Linked DNA regions of Homo sapiens: all the other regions are linked to region 1. The links are contacts of gene promoters, found by promoter capture Hi-C in blood cells and fetal thymus (Javierre and others, 2016). All regions are on one chromosome and are shown on one strand. The core of a region is centred on a gene start or on the middle of the fragment in contact, and the rest is flanking DNA. Distances in the headings are between cores, read along the strand shown. Region 1 holds the start of CREB1 (cAMP responsive element binding protein 1). Region 2 overlaps DYTN (dystrotelin). Region 3 overlaps PIKFYVE (phosphoinositide kinase, FYVE-type zinc finger containing). Region 4 overlaps FASTKD2 (FAST kinase domains 2). Region 5 overlaps FASTKD2 (FAST kinase domains 2). Region 6 has its middle 4.9 kb from the start of PIKFYVE. Region 7 has its middle 47 kb from the start of CPO.

Region 1 (2,803 bases), core at 127-2,626:
AGTAGTATTAAATCAATCTCTCATTAAAGTTCACACAGAAATTCGTGGGAAATATGGTAGGGGGAGTGGGACGGAGGGTGAGGGGAGATCCAGATGACCCAAACGCGGTTGGCAAGGTTGCACCCCGCGAAATGATGTAAAACAAGAGTACATCGGCTGATACTCGTTCCAACGAAGTGTTTCAGAATGATAGATCTCAAGTGATGATTACCTTATTAAAAAGGGTTAAAACCGAAACTGTTTTCAAACACCAGCTTCCCTTTTATAAGATCCCAACAGTTTAAAAAGTTATTATAAATGTTTTTCTTAGCACCCTTTCTCCCAAAAAGCATGCATTTCCATGACTGACTTTAAAAAAAAAAAAAAAGCAAAGGGGTGAGGGAGTCAAAAATTCCCCCCAAAAGCACAAGCTCTCATCTCTCAACTAAGCAACACAGGGCAGAAAGCAGCATTTCCTCAACGGTGTAGGAGCGGGGGGGAAAGGGCACGAATAAAATACAGCACGAGAGGAAACCTTGGGTTTCGAACTTTATTGCACAAAGAGTGGAGAGAAGAGTAGGTCAGACGTTGCAGCTCTTCCCCTTGCGAAGCGGGCATGGCAGGCACCGAAGCCACCGGGAAGGCAGCAGGCACCTTCACCTCCTCTGCCCTCAACTGTCGCCTTCTTCCTCCTCCATCCCCCACCGGCACCTAGGCGGCGGCTGCCCCGGAGGCCCGGCCGGGTCGGGCCGGGGGCGAGGCGGGCGGCGGGGGCCGGACGAGCGAGCGGCGCGGGGGGCAGCGCCGGGCCGAGCGGGCGGCCTCCCCCGGGGCGGCTCCGGGTTCCCGGCTCCGCGCCCGGCCCGGCGGCGGCGGCGGGAACGCGGGCGCCAGCTCGCCGCGGCCGGCCGCCCGCACACACCCCCGGCCGCCGGCTCCCACCCCGCCCGCCGCCCGCCGCCCGCCGCCCCCCGCCATGAGCGCCGCCGCTGGCTGCAGGCAGAGTCGCTGCCGCCCCGGCCGCCGCTGGCTCCAGTCCGCCGCCATTATTCTTTGTTCGCTGCGAGCGGCGGCGATGTTGTGGGGCTCGGGCGGAGGCTCCATCTTTACCGCGGCCCCTCCTGCGAGGGGAAGGCCCCAAGCGCGGGTGTCCGGCGCCTCCCCGTCCCCCCTCCGTCCCCCCGGCTCTCTCTGGCTCCTGCCTCCTCCTCCTGCTCCTCTTACCGGTGGTACAAGCTCCTCCGTCACTGCTTTCGTTCACGGCCCGGATCTCGCTGGAGTTTTATTCTCTCCCCCACGTAACACACCGCGTCAAACTACACCTCCGCCGCGTCACTCACCAACACTCCGCTTCTCCCAGCCGCCCGGGCCACAGGCAGCAGCAGCCGCCGCCGACTGAGGAGCCGCAGCCAGGGAGCCAGCCAGCGCCGCCCAGTGCCGAGTGCGCAGCGGCCGCGCACGGAAACAGCCGAGCTAGGCCCGGAGCAGCTCGAGCGGCCCCGCCCCCGCGCTGGGGACGGAACTTGCCGAAGACCTTCGGGTTTCTTCGGGCGACGAGAAGGGGTTCCGCGGGGAGAGGGAAGGCGAAGGCGGGCTGAGCCCGGCGCCGGGAGGAGTGGTCTAAACTCCACCGCGGCTTTCGCATCGGTAAAGCCGGCAGCGGAAATTTGAAGGAGGAAGCGGGGTTTGTGTGTGGCCCAGTGGGGGAATTCCCGAGGGGTGTCGGCGACTTGGTGGAAACCCCCGCTCAGGCCTGCCCCTGCGGCGGTGAGCGGCGGGCTAGAAGGCGGCTGCGGCTGCCCTGGCTCTGCTCTTGACCGCCGCCAGCCCCGGGAACTTTCCGACGCCGCCGGGAGACGGGGGACGGGCAGCCCGGGCTGGGACGCGGCCGGACCGCTGGAGCCGTGCGGGCTGGGGAAGAAGGTCTGCTGCGCCTCTGCCAACGTCCCGGGGCCTGGGACCCGGGGGCGTCGTGGGACCCCCGTGGGGACGGGTTTTCCTTTCCGAGACTCCGCGGAGAAACCTGGCGGCCGCCAGCGGAGCATGCTTTTCCGGGGGGCGCTGGCCCCGATACTGTGGCACCTTGCGGGGCTCTGCCCGGACCATGGCTGACGTCGACGGCCCTCGGAGGCCTCCAAGCCACACAACCTGCCCGGACCCCTGGAAATATGCCCCATCCTACCTCCCCGCCTTTCTCCAGACAACATCCTGTGTCGCTTTCTTTCCTCAGCCTGTTTTCTACAGCAGGGATTCGCACCCACTGCACCCTAAACCCAGCAGGGGGACTTCCGTGGCTGGAAACTACTGAATTGTTCTTTCAGAGGTCTCTCAGGACGGCACCACTAGGTCCCCATTCTCCTTGATAGTGAACTCTGCAGCCCTCTCCTTGGGGTTTCAAGTCTTTTTTTTTTTTTTTTTTTTTTTAATGAGACGGAGTCTAGCCCTTGTCGCCCAGGCTGGAGTGCAGTGGCACGATCTCGGCTCACTGCAACCTCCGCCTCCCGGTTTCGAGCGATTCTCCTGCCTCAGCCTCCCTAGTAGCTGGGATTACAGGCACCTGCCACCACACCTGGCTAATTTTTGTGTTGTTAGTAGAGACGGGGTTTCACCATGTTGGCCAGGCTGGTATGGAACTCCTGACCTCAGGTAATCCACCCGCCTCGGCCTCCTAAAGTGGTGGGGTTACACGTATGAGCCACCGCGCCCGGCCTCAAGTCTTAATCATTCTTTTTCTGTCCTTTAAAGGAGACGTGTCTTTAGGAAGCAGAGAGGGTTCGATTCTGGACTCCGCCCATGACTCACTTCTCTTGTAAAGAAAGAGTTG
Region 2 (2,803 bases), core at 143-2,642, 820 kb after region 1:
TCCTACTGTTATCTAGGCAAAATAAGGTAAAATGTTTTTACTAAAACATGTATCCTGTGAAAATTTTCCAAGGTGAAAAATAAACTGGGTCCAAGCTATGAAACACATCAGGCATTCAGCATATCTAAAGTTATTGATTTCTCACTGCATGAAAGAAAAATCACTTCACGTAAAATGATTTCTGAAATTTATCATATCAGACCTAAGAGAAGTTATGTTATATATATGACATTTCTACTGAAGGCTGACATTTAAAAATATTTTTCCTCCTGCCTAAAAAGTTATATAGGGCAGTGGTTTTCAAATTGGGCTTCACAAAATATATGTGAATGTAGGGTAGGGCAAAAAAGAGTTAGCCAGGTGGGAAGAGGAGTTGCAAGCAAGGTGGGACGATTCAAAGACCACATCCTCAGCAGGAACAACTCCATCCTTCTCTATTTTCCATACCGTGTTTGCTTGTATGTGTGTGTGTGTGTGTGTGTCTGTGTGTGTGTAAGCTGGGGTCTCACTCTGTCACCCAGGCTGGAGTGCAGTGGAGGGATCTCAGCTCACTGCAACCTCTGCCTCCCAGGCTGAAGCCATCCTTCCACCTCAACCTCCCGAGTAGCTGGGACCACAGGCGTGAGCCACCACACCCTGCCAATTTTTTGTATTTTTAGTAGAGACAGGGTTTCGCCATGTTGCCCGGGCTGGTCTTGAACTCCTGAGCTCAACTGATCTGCCCACAGTGGCCTCCCAAAGTGCTGGGATTACAGGCATCAGCCACCGCGCCTGGCCTTATACTGTGTTTCTGTATTAGGTTCCTTTGAAGAAGAAATTTTTGGTTTTAAAAACAGTTTTATGTAGATTACTGCTCTAGATAAAGAAACTCACTTATAACTATTATTTATTATTCCAGGAACAAACAAAAAGCTAAAAATTTACCCCCAATTATGCATTTTCCTGGAGAATTTCTCCCATTAGAGAAAGTTAGCAGCAATTGTTCACATGTCCCAGTCACGAATGCCTGAGTATGTTCCGTAGCGTAATTTGTGGATGCACAGTTTTCAACTTTTTGTTATCTCTGGCATCAGAAACAGTGAATATAAATAACACTCATGGGAAATATTAACAATACACAAAATCAGTGGTTGAAAAATGTTACCTAGAAAAGATATCCAAACAAAAATTTAAAAACAGAAAATCCCAAACACTGAGATAAAGCATAACATGAGCTCCAAATAGGAAGATCGGGGACACATCGCTGTATAAATCTTGTGGTGAGATTAATGGACACCACTATTATCTGGTTTGGTGTAATATAGAACTCTCAGCAGGAGATGAAATCGGCCTGTGTTCAGAATGCCTGGCTGAGGTGACAGGTTTTAACGATAAAAGAGTTTACAGCCTTCACCACCTGCAGCCAGGTTTTTATTTAAGTCACATTCTGAAACTTGTTCCTCTGTTCCTTAGACTCTCCTCTTAAAAGCAATATCAGAGAACAAATAAAAATTTTTATTATACTTGCTAGATTTCTTATCTGAGGTTGATTTACGAAGTAGAGAGAAACCCAGGGTTTTATGGTTTCACAGGCTGAAGCGTTTTAAATGCCAGGAGCTCTTGGCGCTCTTGATATCCCCACCTCTCAGATGGTGCAAGTGGCTGTTTATTAATTTTGTCTGTCATCCTCTCTCTGCAAGAAGCTATGGGGTTAGCTCTATTACATTCTTGTTTCTATTCATTGCCTTGTAAAAATTTTAGGAGAAGGTGGTTAAAAAATATTCAGTATAAGAAATAAACCATTATTTTTTGTAAGCAGCTGTAGTTTTATTAAGTGCCTTCTCTAGATAATAATACTGATGGAACCAAGATTGTTAACAGTGGTATTACTGAGTTGCAGAATTCTCAGACTCTTTAGCCTAAAGATCTTTACAGAAGAGTAACTGCTCTTTTATGAAGATCACTGTTTTGTATTTAACTACGGCAATTGCTTTTCAACACACCATATTGCTTCTGAAGCTGGGCTGCAGACAAGAAAAACTATATTTGAACAGGAAAGGTAAATTTATTCAATCCACTTAATGAAGAGTATAAAAATGTTTTCCCCAACTTTTTACCACAGTGTCATAACTTTCTTGGAAAGCGTATTTTTCGTTTCTCACTTCCCTTTTTAACTTCTTTCTATAAAACAACATCCTAGAAACTGTACTGGTAATAATGTTACAACTATGCTTTACTAACAGATGCACCTTTCCAAAATCAAATGAATCGCTAGAATAGTAACGCCTGAAGTATACACAAGGAATATATGTCCAAATAGTAGTCATATTTCATTCCCCTTAAAAGAAAATAGCGACCATAAAAAGTCTTAATTATAAAACACCAAATGACATTTGCTTTATTTGAAGCCTTTTGTTCCCATCAGAAAATAAGGCTCAATTCTTCATTTGCTTCCTACAGTGGACTTGATTGACAGCTCCCTGATTCAGCAGGTCCTACTGCGTCCAAGTTTCTGGGAAGCTCGCAAGCACTCCCTTTCTGTGCAGCAACTTTCTCAGGCACTCCAAGAGCTGTTTCAGAAGGCCAGGGAGGAAAACCCAGGACAAGTGCATCCCAGAGCTCCGGAACTCACTCTGAGCCTTCTCACGACAATGTACAACAGGTGAGGGTGTGGACGTCGCGCTGTGACCTCAAAGGCAAAGTTTAGTTTCCAGTGGTCATTTACCATTTGGTGCTGGCTAATATTTGCTTGAGGTTTGGTATATAAGAAGTCTTCTTTGTTTGTTTTTCACAAATTTATTCCTCAGGAGTAGAACAAAGGAGT
Region 3 (2,803 bases), core at 132-2,631, 780 kb before region 1:
GCAGACCAATGACACGATGATGTCCCTCCAAGATGATGACAGTGAGTCACTATGGAGCAACTGCTGGAGTAGTGCCATCATGTGGTTATGATTAGCTGAACTACAAAAATATTATAAGAAAGAAGTTTGCATAGTTAATACTGCCAGAGACAATAATTCTGATGATAAAACAAACAGCCTACAAAGAAATAAACATTTCAATTACGGCTCACAGATAAGATTTTCTAGGTCAATATCATTCTTTCATTATATCTGTACCTTAAGGATTTTGCATATAAATGAAATCTGAATATCTTCCACTAAGAAGTCCCCTGCAATTGACTGAAATGAAATTTTAACACGTAAAATGGGGACAGACAAGCACAGTTTGGGGCTTTTGTTTTTGTTTTTTTTCTCTGAGACGAAGTCTTGCTCTGTTGCCTAGGTTGGAGTGCAGTGGCGCGATCTCAGCTCACTGCAACCTCCGCCTCTTGAGTTCAAGCAATCCTCCTGTCTCAGCCTCTGAGTAGTTGGGATTACAGGCCAGCGCCACCACGCCTGGCTAATTTTTGTATTATTAGTAGAGACGGGGTTTTACCATGTTGGCCAGGCTGGTCTCAACCTTCTGAGCTTGTGATCCTCCCGCCTCAGCCTCCCAAAGTGCTGGGATTACAGGCGTGAGCCACTGCACCCAGCCGGGGCTCTTGGTTTTATAAGAAATTTAATCACAAGTCAAAATAGACTGTATTTCCTAAGTAACCTTAGTATTTTTTTACTTTCTAAGGAAAAAGAAAAAGACCTCCCTTTTTAAGAGGAATGATGCATATGCTTATCAAGTCACTGAAGATAATAAAAGTGAAAAATTAAAATTAAAAATTTCATTGCCTTACAGCAACCTCTCCATGGCTTGTTTCTCCCCATTCTCCTCCCTCAGGAGCTCCAGGTTGTTATGATGCCAGCCCAAAGGTGTGAAAGGCAGCTCTTTGGATTTTTCCTCTACTCGGCGATTAAATAAGGATTCTAAGTACAATATAAAATAAGAAGTTATTACTTCATTGTCCTGTTTTATACCATCTACTCATATATTTAGAAATTGCCCTTTGTCTTTATAAATGTTTTAAGTTAGCCAACATAAATTATTGGTGTAAAAAGGCAAGAACATGTAATAAACATATAAATAAAATGCATAAGAAAATACTTACAAATACATAAAATACACTAAAAATACAGAAATGCAAGAATTAAGAAGAGCAGTAATTGGCAACAGCCAAAATCAGAAACAGAACTGTGAAAATCAAATGTACGTAACTAAGACTCTCAAGCCAATAATTATAAGCACAGCTTCTGAAAAGCAAATAAAATGAAACTTTTGCTTCTCCTTTTAATTTTTAAAAACGAGGGTGTTAATTTCCCCTTTAAAATCACAAACTGGGCCGCGCGTGGTAGCTCACGCCTGTAATTCCAACACTTTGGGAGGCCGAGGTGGGCAGATCACCTGAGGTCAGGAGTTCGAGACCAGCCTGGCCAACATGGCGAAACTCCATCTCTGCTAAAAACACAAAAATTAGCTGGGCGTGTTGGCACACGCCTGTAATCCCAGCTACAAGGGAGGCTGAGGCAGGAGAATCACTTGAACCTAGGAGGCAGAGATTGCAGTGAGCCAAGATCGCACCACTGCACTCCAACCTGAGTGACAGAGCGAGACTCCATCTCAAAAAAAAAAAAAAAAAAATCACAAACTGAAAACTGCATTCAACAGAAATCTGAATGCTGGCAAAAGAACACATGATAGCGAGAGTGATGAATTTTCAAGAAAGAAGCTCAGCTCAGATATCACAAAACAACAGATGACAGTGTAGAAAGTCTATTCAGACAATCCTCAATAGTGTTTCTCTTTCAATATTGGCACAGGGGTTTTTTAACAAAATTTTAGCAAGACAGACTCAAAAACATAAATATTAAAACATAATAAATAGCATTTATGTAGAATTTGTGTAAAATCTTTAAATTTTTTAAAGGATGAATGAAAATAGATAAGACAAAAAATAAATAATAAATGCTTAACAAAAAAATATGTTCACTAAATAACTGTTGAATAATCTGACCAAATAAGTGGAAAGAAAAGAAGTGGGAAATGCTTACAAAAATTCTCTAACCTGTCCCCTCTTAAAAGCAAAACAAACAAACAAAAAAACTTCCACCAAACAGCCCAGCAGATTACACAGTAAAGTATATGTCCATGACATGTGAAGTACAAGAATTGCACATTTCAATTACATAAAGGGCCACTCTGTAAACTTCTAGCCGAACCAGATGCTTGGAGATGAATTTAGAAGCACTGCCAAGCTATCAGATAAGCTGCAGTGGCTCCTTGTACCCGCTTGCCTTCTCTCTTTGATCTGAAACCGTGGGAGCCAAGAAGGAAGAGAAATTTTCTCCCATTATCTGAGGCCTAACCAGTGGAGTACTATGGACTAAGAATGTCTTTACTCTAGGAAGCTAAGCTAAGCTAAGTAGGGAAGGAATAGGAGAAGGCTAATCTCCTTTTGTGTCCAAAAGAAATTTATCATCAGAGTTAGTTCTTTAACCTCTACTGCCTGCTTCTCTTCCTCACTCCACAGGGCAAGCAGCATCCTTAACTGGAGATCTGCCTGTGGGCTTTTTGACAAATTTGACAATCCTTGATGATATTTATATCAATACTTAATATTATATTCACAATACAGTTAAGTGTAAACTATGTCTTTAAAAGAATTAAGTTCAAATTCTACTTAAAAGTTTTTAAACAATTACTTTTCACATCAGAGACCTCCTTCTCGCAAAC
Region 4 (2,803 bases), core at 144-2,643, 760 kb after region 1:
TTTTCATCTCAATTTTTTTATTCCAGATATATGAGGAACAAAGAAAACCACATGAAGAAAGCATAAGAGAGTTCTCACCTGAATCCCGTTCGTAGAACATGAACATTCTTGCATGGTTCCATTGCCTCTAAAACAGTTGACAAAACTGAAAGGCATATCTCATCACACTCATTGATACGTTCCTATTGAAATATAATTACAAAAACACTACAGGTGATGAGCCCATAGTAAACTATCTTACCCAAGCAAAACCACTGAACTGATGTACTGAATAAAACGATTGAGTATCAAACCAACAATTCCTACAGTCAGTCCACAATAAACAGCATCTTTGGGAAATAAAAAGTCATACTTACTGAATTTTCCAGCTGACTGATACACATCCTTTTATGCATCAACACTTTTTTACCTTCACCATTATCACTGAAAACACATTTGATATTTATTATATTCCACTGCTTCTGAAACAACTTTTATTAAACATTATTTTTACCTCTTCTTGGAATTCAAGGTCATTACAAAGGCAAAAACAGTTAAAGTGCAGGAATATAAGAACTACTGAAGTACAGAAGGTAACTAGCCCATCTCTAAAGATCCTTAAATGGTTGTGCCTTTACAATTTCCCTAGATCCTTTCCTGGGTATCAAGCTGAAACTTTACTTGTGAGTCTTCTGATTCACATCTCCTGCCACATTCTACCACTGCTATCTGGGTCTCAAGGGAAGCCTACACCCCACAGATTCTTCTTTCAGGTCCCTTTACTTAGGGTACTAAGTTTGATTCCAGAAATAGTGGGCATAATCTGGAAAGTGAATAGTAACAACACAGCTTAACTAGCAGTACTCTACAGTTTAATCACTAGTCTATAAACCTCACAAAAAATCACATCTGAGGAAACTTAGCCTGAAGAGAGAGAAGCTCTTTTGCTAAAATTACATAACCAATGAATCACAAAGTCTTAAGTCAGAACCAGGTAATAATAAGAAATGGTTATGGTTAGAAGAAAAAAAAGGTTTCTTTCCTATGAAAGGGTTTCCTTAACAATTTTACAGCATTCCATCCATATCTACTATGAAAGAAAAGACCACTTGTCTATGTGTTTGAAGGGCAAATTCATTGATGGCACACTGTCCTTTCACCTCTAAAATGTCTTTACATTATTCCAACAGGTCAGTGAGACACCATCATCCATACAGATGTTTTGACTACAAAAATCTACTACTCATACCTCACCAACACAGATGTCATCCCGATGCAAATATCTGTCCAAAATCTAGTAAGAGCATCACTGACCAGGTAAGGTGATTTATTAGTCACTTTTAAATAACTACATAGGAACTAATACACAGCCTACAAATAAACAGGGATATTCTGTGGTTTAAACAAATACACACACATACACTAAATAAAAATTAGTTATTCCTTAAGGACATATGGAAATCACAGTAATGTAAAAAGTTAAAAACTTTCCCATAGCTATGAACCCAATTATTGAATTCTATAGCAAGACAGGATATATGCCAGATTATCCCCAAGGAATTCCTGTCTTTTAAAAAATTATTATTATTATTTTCAGACAGGGTCTGGCTCTGTCACCCAGGCTGGAGTGCAGTGGCACGATCATGGCTCACGGCAGCTTCGACCTCCCAGGCTCAAGTGATATTCCCACCTCAGCCTCCCAAGTAGCTGGGACCACAGGCAAGTACATCACACCCAGCTAATTTTTGTATTTTTTGTAGAGATGGAGTCTCCCTTTGTTGCCCAGGCTGGTCGCAAACTCCTGGGCTCAAGAGATCCTCCTGCCTTGGCCTCCCAAAGTGCTGGGATTACAGGTGTGAGCCACCACACCTGGCTAAGAAATTACTTCATTATCACTGAGTTTATACGTCAGAAGTGTACACTCTTAAAACATAAATGATTAACAAGCTAATCCTTCCTTCCTTACATTTGGCACCATTTCAGTGACATTAAACAGGACACTGACATTCTTGCTTTAGACTAAAAATGGCTCCCTCCATCCAATTTTAACCTTCTTCCAATACATCTTCCACTCATTCAGTGATCTAAAATACAAATTTGAGCACGTCAACCCATTGCTTAAAATTCTTCAACGGATTCCCATTGCCTACAGGATAAATGCATACTCCTTAGCTAGCCGTAAGAGGCTCTTTATGATTTGGTTCCTATTTTTCTGGCCTCTTGTTCTGCCCCTAAGCCTCTTGCCCCTCACTCCTCTCCTTTGATCGCCATGTACAAAACTTGTTCCCACCCACTCAAACATACAACTCCATCATTCTGTGCTTCAGCTACACCAAACTACTTTCAGCTCTTCAAATTTGCCAAACTTTTCCTCTGGGAACAGTAGGGCATGCAATCCTCTCTACTTGAAACACCATCCCCTTCACTATCATTCTGCTCATCAGTTTAGGTATCATCTACTGGGCCTGAATTCCAATTCTACCATGGACTAAATTCTCTTCCTTCCCCTTCCCTTCTCTCCTTCTTCAACTACCCAGGCTTTCTTTGTATATCTTGCATCTCTCCTCACTTTAGCTTCTTCACCACTACTCAACCCTGGGGATGGTAAATGTGGAAGGCTTTCATAAATTTCCATAGCAAAAGGAAGAAAATAGCTAACTTAAGGCCTCTAAATCATATAATATATATGCAGAAATAAATATAAAGGAAACTACCATTCCATTTGATAGTCTCTTTTAAGAAGGCTACATATCTATATCCCTTCATTCTTTCAAAATATTCTAAATCAAGTAAATGCATGTTTAAATCTCCTTTTTATTTTACC
Region 5 (2,803 bases), core at 134-2,633, 740 kb after region 1:
ATGCTCACATTCTTCACTTCTCATGACTTTATGCTGAGAACAACTGTTATTTTATTATGCCAGAATAGCGGAGTACCCGAAAAAGAAAACTGATCTTGGAATGAGGTCAGAGAGAAAGCCTCTTCTGAGGGGAGATGGGTAGCACTAATAGGAAAGACAGCGGTTGAAAAGATGGCCAAGAAATAAGCTAGATGCATTCAGAAAGAGGTGAAAGTCACAGAACTGTGTGTGAATGAAGAGGGATGGGCAGATAAGAGCTTGGATCCCTACAGATTTTTTTGTATGTTTCTATCATATTTATGTGTGTGTGTGTGTCCAGTGGAGTTAACAGAAGATACAAGTTCCTTGGGGTCAGGATCCATGTAGCAGAGCTTTTACATAAAGGGTAACTGACCCACGGGTGTGTGCAATGATGGCATGATCTTATGCATCTACTGAAGAGGCAGGATGTTCTCTCATGGTATAGCATCATATTTCTCCCCAGAGACACTCTATTTGTAATGTGTGAGCCAAAGAAACAACTTAGGATTAGCTTCAATGTGCTCTAACCCATACAAATACAGTTTAATTAAAAAACTACGGTTTCTCTACCTCTGGAAAAGTCTTGGTGGTAGAGCAAAATATTTATTGGGTATTTGATTTTTGTAGAAGCCTCGAGTCTTTATTCTTTATGATCACTATTATATTATCTTGTCCAAAGTCTACACTGCATTGATAGTTTCAATTATATTAATATTGTTTTATTGAACTATAGCTTCAAAACCTAATTTTAAAAAAATGTCTGTCTCATTAAATGACCAATACTGTAGTCCATTGTATTCAACCATAACGTCCACATTTACACTTTCTAAGGAGTACATTGATGGATGACAAGTCTCTTGGTGTGCTGCAGGCTCCATACAAACATCAAGTCTTAGATTTACTACTGCTATTTAATATGAAGTCTTTTAGAATTAGGATTTTAATTCAGAAAGCCCAGCAAATGAAATATATGTAAGCAACCTTTGAATATCTGTAGCAGAAGTTGTATCCACATCAGAAAGTGGTAGCACTTGATTCCTGTTAGTGTCCATTCTGATTTCAAAATCTGAAAGGAAAGAATTGATATTAATTTTTCAAACATTCCTCCAAGTGACTTTCTTTTTCTTTTCTTTTCCTTTTTTTTTTTTTTTTTGAGATGTGGTCTCGCTCTGTCATCCAGGCTGGAGTGCAGTAGTGTGATCTCAGCTCACTGCAGCAACTTCCCAGGTTCAAGCAATCCTTTTACCCCACCCTGTTGAGTAGCTGGGACTACAGGGGCATGCCATCACGCCCATCTAAGTTTTGTATTTTTTTGGTAGAGACAGGATTTTACCATTTGGTCAGGCTGGTCTTGAACTCCTGAGCTCCAGTGATCCACCTGCCTCGGCCTCTCCACATGCTAGGATTACAGGCGTGTGCCACCGTGACCAGCCCCAAGTGATTTTCTGTTTCAAAATGTTTAATAGTACTACCAATAATGATAATAGCAGTAGCTAAAATATATTGAGAGCTAACCATGTGTCAGATACTAGTCTTGGGATTTTAGACACATAAAAATGTGTAGAATTTCATTTATTGGTCACAAGAATTTTATGAGGCAAGAATCAGGCCAGTTCCAGAGGCAATGCTGCACTACACTAAACTGCTGCCACAAATACCTATTTTTTTGGTCAGAAAAAAAGGAAAATAAATACAATAAAATGAAAGGAAATCATATAATGTCCCATACCAATATGATAATTGTGTGGCAAGTGCACATCCTTTGAGAAGTGTCCTTCACCTCCCAGAAGGCTGCTCAGCACCTCTGCCACCTTTGCATTTGTATGTGACGATGGCAGCTCCCGCGGCAGCTGTGGGAGTGACAAGGCTATGTCCCTCAGATAGACAGTATCATCAAGTTTTAGACAAGTATCCAAAGTATGCAGCTTGTAAGCATTCTTCATGTCATCTAAAAGATGAAAAAGAGAGTATATCATTAAGAAGAAATAAATGCAACATTAAAAAACTATATTAGTATATATTTAGTAATAGTTATAAAATAATAAATATATACATAAATGCACTTGTATTTCTAATTATCTCTTTCTTATCACAAGGACTCTCTCTTTGTCTCCCTGGTTTCCACAGGGTCTAAATCAAAGCCCTGCACTTGATAATGTTTTAAGGCTTCAAATATCTTTAGAGGTCATTTAGTCTAAACTCCTCAATTTATGGATAAGGAAATGCCCAGGAAAGTTAAAAAGCCTCGTAATTAAGGCAAAGTTGGAACTAGAATCCAGGTTTCCAAGGTTCAAGGCTGTTTCTCCATTATTACACTGCCTGAAAAACCAGCACGTGGTATTATTGACTGACTCTCTACAACTCAACTTTGGGATTTTATAACATTTATTTATTTATGTTTTAATTCTGAACTACTCTATTCTCAGACACATCGTCAAATTTTGTACATCTACCTGAATATTGCTTTGCCTTATTTAATACTAAAGACTAAAAGTCAACAGTTAATTTGGTTCCAAGAGTAAATGAACTAATTAATTTGGTGGCTATTTGGTTTCTTGATCTAACAGGTGTTCCCTCATCACAGGCCAGGAGTGACCAAGTGTTTACAGCTGCAAAAATTGACTTAGGTTGGCTTCAAATGTGATAAGTAAGGATTAGGAATTAAAACAGCTCTGATCAAAGCATAAAGAACAGCCTGAACAGTTAGCCTTTGTATAGAAGGATAGAGTATAAATAAAAGGAATAATGATGCATTCCTTATTTTTTTCTACATGTAGGACTT
Region 6 (2,803 bases), core at 98-2,597, 730 kb before region 1:
TCTCTTCAGTCTGTCTATTGTAACCCTTGCTCTGTAGAAACTTCTCAGTTTTATGTAATCCCATTTGTCTATTTGGCTTTTGTAGCCTGTGCTTTTGGGGTCATATCTAAAAAATCACTACTCAGACCAATGTCATGGAGCTTTTCCCTCTCGTTTTTTACAGTTTCAGGGGGTACACATAACGTCTTCAATTTATTTGAGTTGATTATTATATATGGTATGAGATAAGCCTCTAATTTCATTCTCCTGCATATGGATATCCCATTTACCCATTACTACTTATTGAAGAGAATATCCTTTCCCTATAGTGTATTCTTGTCCCCTTATTGAACAATTGACTGTAAATGGGTAAATTTACTTCTGGACTCTTTATTCTTTTTTTCACTTTTTATTTTTTTTTAAAAATGAGCATCCTATTAACTGATAGACTCTTTATTCTGTTCAGTTGGTTTGTCTGTTTCTCTGCCAGTACCATGCTGTTCTGATTACTGTAGCTTTGTAGTGTATTTTGAGATCAAGCAGTATGATGCTTCTAGCTTTGTTCTTTTTGCTCAAGAATTCTTTAGCTATTCAGCCTCTTTTGTCATTCCATAGGAATTTTAGACTTTTTTTTCTAGCTGTGCGAAAAAGTCATTGGAATTTTTATAGGGATTGCATTGAATCTGTGGATCACTTTGGACATTTTAACAATATTAATTCTTTCAACCCATAAACATGAGATGTCTTTTTATTTATTTCTGTCTTCTTCAGTTTCTTTCATCAATGTTTTATAGGTTTCAGTGTGCGGGTCTTTTACTTCTGTTAAATTTCTTTCTTTTTTTTTTTTTTTTTTTTGAGATGGAGTCTCACTGTGTCACCCGGGCTGGAGTGCAGTGGGGCCATCTCGGCTCACTGCAACCTCCGCCTCCCAGGTTCAAGCAATTCTCCTGCCTCAGCCTCCTGAGTAGCTGGGATTACAGGTGCCCACCACTACGCCCAGCTAATTTTTTTGTATTTTTAGTAGAGACGGGGTTTCACCATGTTGGCCAGGCTGGTCTCAAACCCCTGACCTCGTGCTTCGCCTGCCTTGGCCTCCCAAAGTGCTGGGATTACAGGTGTGAGCCACCACACCTGGCCCGTATTTATTTCTAAGTATTTTAATATATTTTTGTAGCTATTGCAAATAGGATTGTTTTATTGATTTCTCTTTCAGATAGTTCACTGTTAATATTTGGAAACAGTACTCATTTTTGTATACTGATTTTATATCCTACAACATTACTAAATTTGTTTATTCTAATAGTTTTTTGGTGCAGTCTTTAGGGTTTTTTATGTATAAGATCATGTAACCTGCCAGGTGTGGTGGCTCACGCCTGTAATCCCAGCACTTTGGGAGGCAGAGGTGGGCAGATCATGAGGTCAGGAGTTCGAGACCAGCCTGGCCAACATGCTGAAACCCCATCTCTACTAAAAATAGAAAAATTAGCCAGGCATGGTGGCGCATGCCTGTAGTCCCAGCTACTCAGGAGGCTGAGGCAGGAGAATTTCTTGAACCCAGGAGGCAGAGGTTGCAGTGAGCCGAGATCTCACTGCTGCACTCCAGCCTGGGTGACAGAGTAACACTCTGTCTCCAAAAAAAACAAAAAAATCATGTCATCTGCAAACAGGTACAATTTAATTTCTTCCTTTTCAATTTGGATGCCTTTTATTTCATTCTTTTGCCTAATTGCCCTGACTAGGACTTCTAGTACTATGTTAAATAGAAGTGGCAAGAGTGCATGTCTTGGTCGTGTTCCTGACCTTAGAGGAAAAGCTCTTTTTTACTGTTGAAATGATGTTAACTGTTGGTTTGTCATATATAACCTTTATTGTGTTGAGGCATATTCTTGCTATACCTAATTTGTTGAGAGCACTTCCTTACTTTTTGACCCAGCAGGCTCATCTTGAACTTTCCCTGCCCCGGGCCTAGAATCAATCAGCTCTCAAAGGAGCACCAATTCCTTTTAGTAGGGATGCAGACATGTTTGTAAAAATTATGAAACTAAGTTCCAGCTAGGATGCAATAAAATTAGCACTCTCTTACACTGCATGTGAAAATATAAATTGGTATATTCCCCCCTAGAAAATGATTTGGTGGATTTAACAAGCACCTTAAATATATTTATACTTCATGATCTAATAATTCCCATTCTAGCAATGTAGCCCAAAGAATTGATCTGTGTTTTAAAAAAGGAAGATAAAGACATTTGTCACAGCCATTTAAACATTAAAGAAACAAAAAGGAAACATCCAATACAAACCAACACAAATGACATGAAAGCAATATAATCAAATCCATTCTAACCAACACAACCAACATGGAAGTAATACAAATAATTTTTTAAAATATGTAGACATCAATAGTATGTTGACTAAGACTTTTAAAAGCATTTTTCCGCCAGGCGTGGTGGCTCACGCCAGTAATCCCAACACTTGGGGATGCCAAGGCGGGCAGATCACTTGAGGTCAGGAGTTCAAGACCAGCCTGGCCAATATGGTGAAACCCCATCTCTGCTAAAAATACAAAAATTAGCCAGGCGTGGTGGCCCGCGCCTGTAATCCCAGCTGCTCAGGAGACTGAGGCAGGAGAATCACTTGAACCGTAGAGGTGGAGGTTGCAGTAAGCCAAGATCGTGCCACTGCACTCCAGCCTGGGTGACAGAGCCAGACTCCGTATCAAAAATAAAAAAGTGTTTTTCTTCACTTTACAATCAACCTTCTTGAAAAGGTTTTCTTGTCTCCCTTTCCATACCCCCCATTCATGCTTCAGTCCCCTGTAGTATGG
Region 7 (2,803 bases), core at 217-2,716, 540 kb after region 1:
GAAAGGCCACTGGCAGATAACATTATGGACGCCCACTATACTAGTGAAAGTAACATGCCCCAAGGGAATGTCACTTTATGAATTCTACCACCCTGAAAGTGATTTCTATCTTTGCCCTAGTCAAAACAATTATTAATGATGAGGGCAGCATACTGATTAGATTCAGGGGACACTTCAAACTGGGAGAAATAGCTAATAAGTTAGGTGACAGAAAAAGGACACTGAAAGTTTGGTAGACTTTCCTAGTGCCCAAAACAATAATATTACATATAATGGGATAAAGACTCTTTAATTAGGTTAACAATTGACTTGGCAATAACAGCATAGAAGAGCCCTGACTTGACAATTAGTTATTAAAAATCTAAGAATTTTAGTTGACCATGAGCTGGTTGTGGCATGACTTCGCTTTAAATAAAAGATTTGCCATCTCATGCTGCATTTACAAGTACAGTATCCAGATCAGATCAGAGTAGGGAGCAGGCAATGTGGGAGAAGGTGGCTCCTTCTGTGCTCTGTGCTTGTTAGATCAAAGGTGTGTTCAGCCCTAGGTGTCATATTAAAGGCCTCAGAAATCTGAACTCAGAAGTAGAGGAATGCATATTTATTTAGCAACTACTAATTACTAGATACTACAGAGAGATTTTAAAACACAGTCCCCAGGTTAGATGAGTTGTCTAGAAATTCAATTTTATGAAAACTGAAACTGAGAATGTTTTTCTGAGAGGAGAGAAGACCTCTAGAAGGAACAGGATAGCTGTGTTCAGATATATGATGTTGTCATGTGGACAACACTGAGCTACAATTGAGCTACAATTCAAGACTAAGACTGGTCCATGCTGTTCAAGAAGGTAAAAGAAGCACACCAAATGTCTAATAGAGAGAAGCTAAGGCAGATTTATGCTGAATAAGAAGGAGTTTGCTAGCAATTAGACATGTTCTGTGTGATGAAACTGGTTTGTTACCAAGTGATGAGTCTATGCTGCCTCTGGAAGTGTCCAAGAAGAGAAGGGAGGTTAACAACCACCATACTAGGTTGCTATATGCCAGTTTACATGATACGTGCTTTATATCTCAAATCCTCACAATAATCTGGCAAGGCAGAAAAAAATACTGCTCCTATTTTACAAATGAGGGACTTGAGGTCTAGAGGGGTTACATCACTTGCTTAGTATCTCATTACTTGTAAGTGGCACAGCCTGAATTCAAACCCATGTCTGTGTAGTTTCAAAGTAGGGATATAGCCAAGTGAATTCCTGCCTTAGAAGGTGTATTAGTCTGTTCTTATGCTGCTAATAAAGACATACCCGAGACTGGGTAATTTATAAAGGAAAAGAGGCTTAATGACTCATAGTTCTATGTGGCTGGGGAGGCCTCACAATGGTGGTAGAAGGTGAGGAGGGGCAAAGTCACGTCTTACATGGTGGCAGGAAAGAGAGTGTGGCAGGGGAACTGCCCTTTATACAACCATCACATCTCGTGAGACTTATTCACTATCATGAGAACAGCACGGGAAAGACCCACCTCCATGATTAAATTACCTCCCACTAGGTCCCTCCCACCACACGTGGGAATTATGGGAGCTACAATTCAAGATGAGATTTGGGTGGGGACCCACAGCCAAACCATATCAGAAGGAGGTTGGAGAAGACAAATATTAAGGTTTAGTATACTAATTTTACTACTTTACTGAGCCTCAGTTTCTGCCCAGTAGTCCATGATCTCTGTATGGGTACAGAGTACCCATAATTCTAAGTATCTTTTTGGAAGAACAAACAAGATATTCTCCTTTTATGATATCAGAGTAAAAGAAAATAGATATATCAGTAAGGATCTGCTAAACTGCAGTAATAAACAATCCCTAAATCTCAGTGGCTTAACCCAATACCTTCTGCAGGGATCGGCAGGGGAGTCTTCCTACCATAGTCAGGGAGCCTGGCTGACGCAGGCTTTATCTCACCATGTGCTTACCTGATCACAGCAGCTGCAGACAGAAAGCATCACAAACTATGCACTGGCTCTTAACACTTCTGCCTGGAAGTCATGTACAACCCTTCCACTCACATTTCTTTGTACAACACCTGGTCACACCTAACTTCAAAGAAGTTGAAGAAGTACAATCATATCACGAGACCAGAGGTAGAAAGTCATACAGATTTGAGACTACACAAGTGATTTCCACAATCACATTTTGATAACAGTCAATATTGAGTTGATATTTAAATTATAACTATGATCATTAAGAATTTTTGAAGGAAATAGTGATGGAAAGATAGTGTGGAATGCATGCCCTGAAAATGTGGGGAATAATAAATTAGATCTCATGATACCAAATCTTCAGAAGACGAGTCACATTAATGGTTTCCATTCTGTGTCGTGGAATGTCCCAGACACTTTTATAATGGGTAAGGGGTTGGGCTCCAGGCTCCTTTCCTTTTCTGTCCTCAGCTTTGTTCATCTGCTTTATTTGGTGTGTGGGGTGCATGTTTGTGTGTGTGTGTGTGTGTTTTTGATGAATTTTTGTTTCTCAGCACCCATTCCTCTCTTCTAACAGCTCCCAAATTTCCATGTGAAGAATTACACCCTTCATATTGTATAAAGCCTCAAGATGTCCTGACTATAAGCCACACAGGCTATTGGTTTCTACGAGAAGCTCTCACCACCTAGGTACAGCCAAACATGTGACCCCAGCTTAATCAGACTCTCTCCCCTTAGAGTTTGACCCTCACACCAGCAACTACAATGGCAAAAGAAAAGGTAAAAGTTCGTTGCCACTTTGGTTGTGCAGTATTAAATTATTTTTCAA

Evidence for each region. The method cuts DNA at HindIII sites, captures the fragments that hold promoters and counts their contacts. A CHiCAGO score of 5 or more calls a contact.
Region 2: a contact is called between a fragment that was not itself captured here and the fragment with the promoter of CREB1 in region 1, in 1 of 17 cell types (monocytes). The highest score is 6.8, in monocytes.
Region 3: a contact is called between a fragment that was not itself captured here and the fragment with the promoter of CREB1 in region 1, in 1 of 17 cell types (total B cells). The highest score is 8.6, in total B cells.
Region 4: a contact is called between a fragment that was not itself captured here and the fragment with the promoter of CREB1 in region 1, in 11 of 17 cell types (fetal thymus, naive CD8 T cells, total CD8 T cells and 8 more). The highest score is 19.0, in fetal thymus.
Region 5: a contact is called between a fragment that was not itself captured here and the fragment with the promoter of CREB1 in region 1, in 14 of 17 cell types (naive CD4 T cells, monocytes, naive CD8 T cells and 11 more). The highest score is 16.5, in naive CD4 T cells.
Region 6: a contact is called between a fragment that was not itself captured here and the fragment with the promoter of CREB1 in region 1, in 1 of 17 cell types (total CD8 T cells). The highest score is 5.5, in total CD8 T cells.
Region 7: a fragment that was not itself captured here is called in contact with the fragment with the promoter of CREB1 in region 1 in 4 of 17 cell types (fetal thymus, M2 macrophages, megakaryocytes and 1 more); the score reaches 9.1 in fetal thymus.

The regions. Positions count from the first base shown.
Region 1 is chr2:207,528,535-207,531,337 of GRCh38, reverse strand. It overlaps CREB1 (cAMP responsive element binding protein 1), which reads right to left and starts at 1,376. Exons shown (of 8, transcript NM_004379.5): 1 at 1,204-1,376. LOC124907970 (a long non-coding RNA gene) reads left to right here and starts at 1,741. Exons shown (of 3, transcript XR_007088060.1): 1 at 1,741-1,902; 2 at 2,725-2,803. RefSeq lists silencers at 68-237, 948-997, 1,028-1,157, 1,828-2,007 and enhancers at 1,248-1,347, 1,608-1,807. The HindIII fragment of the contact is 5,804 bases long and covers 1-2,803 here.
Region 2 is chr2:206,707,140-206,709,942 of GRCh38, reverse strand. DYTN (dystrotelin) reads left to right here. Exons shown (of 12, transcript NM_001093730.1): 3 at 2,440-2,641. Among named protein-coding and RNA genes, the nearest start is that of DYTN, 9.9 kb to the left of the region's middle. The HindIII fragment of the contact is 4,270 bases long and covers 1-2,803 here.
Region 3 is chr2:208,312,490-208,315,292 of GRCh38, reverse strand. It overlaps PIKFYVE (phosphoinositide kinase, FYVE-type zinc finger containing), which reads right to left. Exons shown (of 42, transcript NM_015040.4): 14 at 870-999; 15 at 1-100. Among named protein-coding and RNA genes, the nearest start is that of PIKFYVE, 48 kb to the right of the region's middle. The HindIII fragment of the contact is 3,644 bases long and covers 1-2,803 here.
Region 4 is chr2:206,767,470-206,770,272 of GRCh38, reverse strand. FASTKD2 (FAST kinase domains 2) reads right to left here. Exons shown (of 12, transcript NM_001136193.2): 2 at 2,803; 3 at 79-182. Among named protein-coding and RNA genes, the nearest start is that of FASTKD2, 3.3 kb to the right of the region's middle. RefSeq lists an enhancer at 1-574. The HindIII fragment of the contact is 2,931 bases long and covers 1-2,803 here.
Region 5 is chr2:206,787,103-206,789,905 of GRCh38, reverse strand. FASTKD2 (FAST kinase domains 2) reads right to left here. Exons shown (of 12, transcript NM_001136193.2): 9 at 1,751-1,969; 10 at 1,003-1,087. Among named protein-coding and RNA genes, the nearest start is that of MIR3130-1, 5.2 kb to the right of the region's middle. The HindIII fragment of the contact is 5,023 bases long and covers 1-2,803 here.
Region 6 is chr2:208,259,995-208,262,797 of GRCh38, reverse strand. No RefSeq gene overlaps it. Among named protein-coding and RNA genes, the nearest start is that of PIKFYVE, 4.9 kb to the left of the region's middle. The HindIII fragment of the contact is 6,247 bases long and covers 1-2,803 here.
Region 7 is chr2:206,985,086-206,987,888 of GRCh38, reverse strand. No RefSeq gene overlaps it. Among named protein-coding and RNA genes, the nearest start is that of CPO, 47 kb to the right of the region's middle. The HindIII fragment of the contact is 3,782 bases long and covers 1-2,803 here.